Regions from separate parts of the Homo sapiens genome. Here region 1 is linked to region 2. The links are contacts of gene promoters, found by promoter capture Hi-C in human tissues and cell types (Jung and others, 2019). All regions are on one chromosome and are shown on one strand. The core of a region is centred on a gene start or on the middle of the fragment in contact, and the rest is flanking DNA. Distances in the headings are between cores, read along the strand shown.

Region 1 (3,797 bases), core at 1,256-3,755, 50 kb after region 2:
ATCTGCAGATGTGAATTATTTAACGGCAGGAGCATTTTTCGGGTGCAGGGAAACTCACTGGGGCCCAAGCAAGGGGCCTGGATCCACTCTCTTGTGACCCATCACATCCCAATCAGAGAGTGGAAATACTCTTGGGGGAATAGATTTGAAATTTCCCAGAAGCAGCCCTGCCCCACCCCTGCCTCCCACACAGTCCCCCAGCTTCTCTGTCATGATTACTCACAGATGACCTGGATGAAATCATCTCATAAGGGAGTTATTGGGGAGAGAAGCGATGCCACTGACAAGGTATGTGAGCTTGGGCAGGGGCAGGTCACATTACCTCTTCAAGCCTCAGTTTCCTTATCTGTAAAATAGGCATGATATGGTTTGGGTCTGTGTTCCCACCCAAATCTCATGTCAAATTATAATTCCCAGTGTTGGAGGTGGGGCCTGGTGGGAGGTGGTTGGATCATGGGGGTAGAGTTCTCATGAATGGTTTAGTGCTGTCCTCGAGATAGAGTTCTCAGGAAATCTGGTTGCTGAAAAGTACGTATTACCTCCCCCCACTTGCTCTTCCTCCCGCTCCCACCACATAAGATGTCTGCTCCTACTCTGCCTTCTGCCATGATTGGAAGCCCCCTGAGGCCTCTCCAGAAGCAGATGCTGCCATGCTTCCTGTACATCCTACGGAATTGTGAGCCAATTAAACCTTTTTTCTTTATAAATTACCCGGTCTTATGTATTTATTCATAGCAATGCAAGAATGGACCAATACAAGGGATTATATTAGGGATCTCCAGAGAAGCAGAACCAATGGTGGAGAGAAAGGGAGAGAGAGAGAGACAGAGGGAGAGAGAGAGAGAGAGAGAAATTGGTTCACATGATTAGGGAGGCTTAGCAGGCCTACAATCTGCCATCTGCAAGTTGGAAACCCAGAAAATTTGGCAATGTACTTCAGCCCAAGTCCAAAGCCCTGAAAACCAGAAACACCAATGGTGTAAGTCTCAGTCTGAGGGCAGGAAGAAACTGATGTCCCAGCTCAAGCACTCAGGCAGAGAGCAAATTCAACCTTTCTTGGCTTTTGTGTTCTAGTCAGGCCCTCAGTGGGTTGGCTTATGCCCACCCACCTCCGGAAGGGCAATGTGCTTTATTCAGTTCACCTATTTAAACACTAATCTCTTCCAGAAACATCCTCACAGGCACACCCAGAAATAATGTTTAACCAGATTATCAGCATCTTTTAGTCCAGCCAAATTGACACACAAAATGAACCTTCTCAGGGATCATTAGGACTTAACTGAAAAATCCATGAGTCAATACATGAGTTACAGACCCTCTGGAGCCCACCCATATCCCCTTGCCCTCACCACTTCAGGGCACATTGGCCCAATTCTGTTGTCAGCACCTGAGGGCTTTCTCAGGTCCAAGGTTGGCCTGAAGTGCTGGGGCATCGGTGCCTCCTAGCAACATCCTCAATGATCAAATACCAAAGCTCCCCAACTCCTCAGGTAAGATAACTCTGAGGCATGTTTTCCACACAGTTTCCCAGAGCCTCCCAGTGGGATTGGGCTCCAGCCACCCACAGTGATGACTGGTTTAATAATGGATGCATTTTAGGCTTCTTCCCTTCCTTGTCTCACTTCCCTGTTCCCCTTCTGTTTCCCTCATTTCCCATATAAACTTATATATATATACACATATACATATATAAACTCATTTCCCATATTAACAAATCCTTGTCTCCAGCTTTGCTTCCAGGGGAACCCAAGCTAAGATATCATTTCAGTTGCTGTTGTTGTTTTATGAGGTTTAGAATCCTAGGGAATAGACAACACCCATATTCTGTGTGGGTCCAGAAGTCAGAGCCAGCATTAACCTGGAGGAGCTTCAGGGAGGCAGATTCAGCCTCTACAGAAGAAAAGCCCCTCTTCACTCCCCCTAGGCAAGATCACACGAAGGAATAACTGTTGTAAGTGATGCCCATGTGGTGCTGATGCTGTTACACAACTGAGACCCCTGCAGGGCTCAGGACTGAGACCCCTAGGCTCACCTGACTCCATGATCTACCTTGATCACTGAGCCTGCACTGGCAGCTCTCACTAGACCTGCCCTGGCTCCATTTTCAGTCATCACCCTACATGGGGCCCAGCCTGGCTATGGATGGTGCTGGCCCCTCATTAAAGTACCTGATGGGGAGAGAGGAAGAAGAGCAGATGATGGAAGGATAGCTGCTAGCTAGTAGGAGGACATTACAGTGAAACCCCAGGGGAACTAAGGGACACTAGTCACCAGCTTGGAGGGCAGCCCAGAAGAATGCTGGCTGGGGCATGGAAATTTGTGCCAAGACTGGTCAAGCCCTCCCTAATCCTCCTCTTCCACCACCATCATCACCACCACCATCATCACAATCATTATCATGATCACTACCACCACCATCATCATCACCATTATCACCACTACCAACACTATCATGATCATCACTATCACCATTATTATCATCCCCATCATCATTATCATTTCAGCCATCACCACCATCATCAGCACTATCCCCACCATCACCATCAACATCAGCATCACTATTATCACCACCACCATTATCACAACCATCATCATTATCACCACCACCATTATCACCATTACCACCACAATCACTATCACTACCACCATCATCACCATCACCATTATTATCATCCCCATCATTATTATCATTACGACTATCACCACCATCATCACCACTATCCCCACTATTACAGTCATCATCATCATCACTATCATCACCATCACCATTATCACAACCATCATCATTATCATCACCACCATTATCACCATTACTACCACTATCATCACCATCATAATCACCACAATGACCACCATCATCACCATCATCCTCATCATCACCACCACCATCATCATCATGGCAGTATTACTCATTTTTATGAGCTTGACACTGTAAATGAAGTATCTCTATCCCTATCATAACCCTGCCTCTAAGGACTGTTAGTTACTCTCATTTTACCAAGGAGGAAACTGAGGGTCATACAGGTAAAAAATCATTCCTAAAGTCATCACAATCACAAAATACAATCAAAATACCTGGTTTGAGGTAGGTTCAAACCAGATCCAGCTGGTGTCAAAATCCATGATCTTTCAAACACCCTCCATATTCATCCATTCATTCAAAAAAACACATCAATCTGTTGAGCACCTACTATGTGCTGGTCACTCTATTGTATTATGCCCAATCCTCTGAATAGCCCTGAAAAGTTACCCAGAAGATTGAGGCTCAGAGGGGTAAAGAGACTTGTCCAAAGCCACACAGCTGGTGAGTGCCAGAAGTAGATTCAAACCCAGGTCTGTATGGCTTTAAAGCCTGAACTTTTGCAACTTCATGGTCTTTCATTCACTCATTCATCCTTCATTAATGAATGAATTAATCAGGCAAATATCCATTTTACAATGCCCACTTTCTGCTAGCTGCCTGGACACACCTTCTGGGGGCCTCCTTTGTGGTAGGGTTTTGGGGTAACAAGCAAGGGCACACAGAGCTCAAACAGAAGTTTGGGGAGGCATATGCTCAAAAAGACCAGAGAAAGTGCTCTGTGAATTGAAAGATCACTTCTAGCTGGGGAAAATCAAGGCAGGCTTCCTGGAGGAGGAGGGTGTCTGGGCTGGGCCCTGAAGAGTGAAGAGGCATTTCCCACAATGAAATAAGAAAGAAAAGCATTCTAGGCAAAACGACCAGCACAAGAAAAAACATGGGGCTGGGAAGTTGGTGGGGGATGGTACAAACAAGGATTGGATTGGTTAGGCTGGAG
Region 2 (3,919 bases), core at 838-3,337:
GGGCATGTTAATAGTACCTTCATCATGTGGCCATGGTGAGGATTTGATAAAATCATCTCGAGAAAGTGGTTTGCAAACTGAGAGGAGTTATTAGGTAAACATCTAAGAGATGGGACTTCAGTCCAACTTCCCCCACCCCATTTTACAGATGGTGAAACTGACACCTGGTTACTTTATTTATTCCATGAACAATGACCCTAATATATGCTAGTTCTTGTGCAGGGGACTGAGGATGCAGAAAAAAAGTAATATCCCAGATCTGGCCTCTAGGGGCCTCCCGGCTAGAAGGAGAGACAGACAAGATGACTGGTCATTAGAACACGGTGTGGTAGGAGCCGTGATAAGGGAGGGATAGGCCCTGGGAGAGCCTAGCAGACAAGCCCTGACCCAGTGCGGGTAGGGGACTTCTCAGAACAAGTCAAGCCAGAGAAAGGCATGACTTGCCCAAAGTTAAGGTTATCTGTTCCCTGAAGTTTTGGGGGAGTCCAAAGAAGGCCCCTGTGCATCAAGAGATAACTCTCCTGTGGACCTCCCAAGTGTATGACACATCATCATTTGAGTGCCACTGGTTTAGGTTAAAGAAAAGGCCAAGCTGCCTCCTCCTGCACCAGAGGCCTGAATGACCCAGTCACACTCACCTCAGCAGCCAAGGCATTTAGAGGAATCTTACCTTCAAACCAGTTTGGAAGGGGCAGGAGATACAGCAAGAACCACAGAGAAGATTGGTCTTGAGAAGGAGGTAGGGGATGCAAAAGGGAAGTTGAGGGCTTTCCCTAATAGAAAAAGAAAGACTCAGAACCTGGACGTTCAGGCGTGTGACCTCAGACCAGTGATCTGGCATCTCTGAACCGCACAGGTCTGAGTGATTGGGCTTATATCAAGTAGTAGTTCCCTGATGTTGTAATGCTTATAATTTTGCCAAAGCTGGCTTGCCCATTTAAAATGGGCTATTCTGAAGACAGAGGAGGGAGTGGAATATTTTCAACAGAGAGTGCCGGCAAAGGTTTTGTGTCCTTTATATACAAAGAACCCTTAGATATCAATTGGAAAAAGATAAACATGCCCCCAGAGGAGAAAAAAATGGGAACAGACTTGAACAGGAGAGTCAGACTAGAAATGTGAAAAATAAGTTTATAAAAGAGAATCAACACTAACAAAGAAATGAAATGCCTATTGAAGCATCTAGATATTATTCTCGACTTCACATCAGGGAAAGTTTAAGGGATGGGTAGCAACAAGGTGGGTTTAGTATGTGAGAATACTGTGCCCTGGTATAACATCGTAGAGAGGTCAAGCTGCCACGGCCTTCCAGGGTGCAGTGTGACCAAAAGCTCAGAAGTCTTAAAAATAGGCAAACCTTAAATCTAGCAATTTCTAAAAGGTATTCATAAGACACACACACAAAGATGTCATACTAAATATTCATTGCAGCACTGTTCTAATAAAAAAAAAGAAGCAAATCTATTATGGAAAAGTCAAATAATCTTAAGATAGCCTTTCTATGCAGCCATGAAAAATGTATATTGGAAGAATATAGGTGATATGGAAAAAAGTTCACAATCTGTGGTTAAGCAGGTTACCAAACTAGATGTGGAAATCCACATTCATATATTTAGTTGTGTATCCTTGCTATTTCTTTAAACAATGAACATGCATTACTTTTGACATCTGAAAATAATAACAAAACTCTTCCTTTTAACAAATATGAAATTATAAAAAGAAACAAACTTTTCTCTCTGTTAGTATTCATTCCCCTTCCCTGGCCCCCCTCAGAAGACACCCAAGGCAAGTGTGTGATGATACCTTCCCTCTGGTCTCTGCCCGGAAGGTCTTCCTGAGGGTTCCCTGTGACTGCAGGCCACTCGAGGCTGTTGGGGAGACTTGCACACCCTGGCTTCTTTCTGCCAATCACAGGCTCCTCTGGCTGTGGCTGTTTGCCCAGAAAGCAGTTCATTCATTTGTTCATTCAAGATCCCCCTCTGAACCCCCAGAGCGCCGCAGCTGGAACACCCCTATCACCCGGAGGCTTCCCAGGGAGCCTGCTCTGTCCTGAGCTCCCTGCTGGCCGCCGGGGCTGCTTCCCTGAATGGGACTGGGACAGAACTCAGCCAGAGAAACAGCTGGAGGGAGGAGAGCAGGAGGGAGGGGCAGGAAACTGGGCTGACCTAGGGCGGGGGCGGCTAGCTGCGTGGAGAGGGGGCTGCGAGGGGAGGGTGCCCCTACCAGCCGGGGACTGGGCTTGTGGGTGGCGGCGGGGGCCCGCTGGGGACGACCCGCCCCTCTGGCAGCCTCTTGCAGCCGGGGAGCCGTGCCCACTGAGCGCAAACAGGGAGCACATCTGAGCACCCGGCTGCTGGGGGAAGTGCAAGCGCCTCTGCTCCCGGTGAGGGGCTCAAGCTCCACACTGACCGAGAGATTGGCTGCCTCTCACCCTGGGCCTTTGCAACGCTGTTCCTCCCACCTGGATGCTATTCCTGCCCTAATTCGTGGCCCGATGGTCTCCTACTGCCTCTTCAGGTCTCAGGTTGAAGGTCACCTCCCAGGGAAGCCTTCCCCAACCCTCGGGGGCTGCTGTGCCCCTCAGGGTCACCCCATCACCTCACTGATGCAGTGCTGTCCTTGCCTGTTAAGATGTCTCTCTCCTTGCACCGAGAACTCCTTGCACCAGGAACTCTGTAGGGAAAGAACTGTATTCTGTTCCCTGCCCTAACCAGGCGCTAAGTGCCTGGTTCATCGGCTGTGTGGTCACCATCATTAGTGGAATAATCAAAACAACCGACAGCCAGGCAGCGTGCTAGGCGATGCGTACTTACTCTTCACGGCAACCCTAGATAACAGGAATTATTACTACTCCAGTCTTACCAATAAGGAAACTGGGGTACAGAGAGATTAAGTCACTTGCTCAAGACCACACCGCCAGCAGCTGACAGAGCTGGGATTCCAACTATGTTGTCTGGCTCGGAGGCCCACCCTTGGCCTCCAGACTGAAGAAATAACAGAAGTGCCCATGTGGGCCCCTGTGCCAAGTGCTTCCATGGAGTAAGCCGTGTGAACCACCACCCACGTCGGGGGGGCATCACTTGCCCATTCTACACATGAGGATGCTAGGGCCACAGAGCAGAAGTCGTTTTGCCCAGGGCGCCAAGCTCATGCTGACCGAGCCATGGCTGGATCTGAGTCTGTCTGATTCCAAAGCCAAGACTGCCTACGACTGCCTAAAATAATATTTTTAGAAAGAAAAAGAAAAGGGAAGGGCAGGGGAGGGGAAGAGAGGGGAAGGGAGGAGAAGAAAGAAAGGAAGAAAAGGGAGGGCAGGGAGGAAGGTAATGGGGAGGAGGGGAAGGTGAAGGGAGAGGGAGATGGGGAGGGAGGGAGAGAAGGAGAGAAACCTGTGTTTTGGGCCTCAAAGTCTTGGGCAGGTGGAGGACTATGTCCTCATCGTCTGATCAGCCTTAGAACCCCACCGACCTCTCCCCACCATCCTCAATCCTTTAATTCAGTGAGCTTTACACTTAGAAACCATCTAATTTCATTCTTCCATTTCACAGATAACTTGAAGCCCAGAGAGATTGAGTCTCTTGCCTGAGGTCACACAGGTCTCTATAGTCAGAAGTCAGGCCCAGTCTACCCAACTGTCTTCCTTGCTCTCTTCTTCTTTGGGCTTATCTAGGGAACAAAACATCATATCGAAACACTTACTGTACAGATGAGAACACTGAACCCAGAGGAGGCAAGGGACTCACCCAAGGTCACCCAGAAGTTAGTAATTGTATTGGTCCGTTCTCACACTGCTGTGAAGAAATACCCAAGACTGGGTAATTTATAAAGAAAAAAGGTTTAATTGACTCACATTTTCGCATAGCAGGGGAGGCCTCAGGAAACTTACAATCATGATGGAAGGTACCTCTTCACAGGGTGG

What was found. Contacts are between HindIII fragments. The study calls those that stand out against the background at their distance.
Region 1: a fragment that was not itself captured here is called in contact with the fragment with the promoter of CMKLR1 in region 2 in 1 of the 25 tissues and cell types used here (pancreas).

The regions. Positions count from the first base shown.
Region 1 is chr12:108,387,054-108,390,850 of GRCh38, forward strand. No RefSeq gene overlaps it. Among named protein-coding and RNA genes, the nearest start is that of CMKLR1, 50 kb to the left of the region's middle. RefSeq lists enhancers at 1-527, 3,699-3,797. The HindIII fragment of the contact is 3,825 bases long and covers 594-3,797 here.
Region 2 is chr12:108,337,224-108,341,142 of GRCh38, forward strand. CMKLR1 (chemerin chemokine-like receptor 1) reads right to left here and starts at 2,088. Exons shown (of 4, transcript NM_001142343.2): 1 at 1,804-2,088. RefSeq lists an enhancer at 1,521-2,144 and a silencer at 2,252-2,371. The HindIII fragment of the contact is 8,294 bases long and covers 1-3,919 here.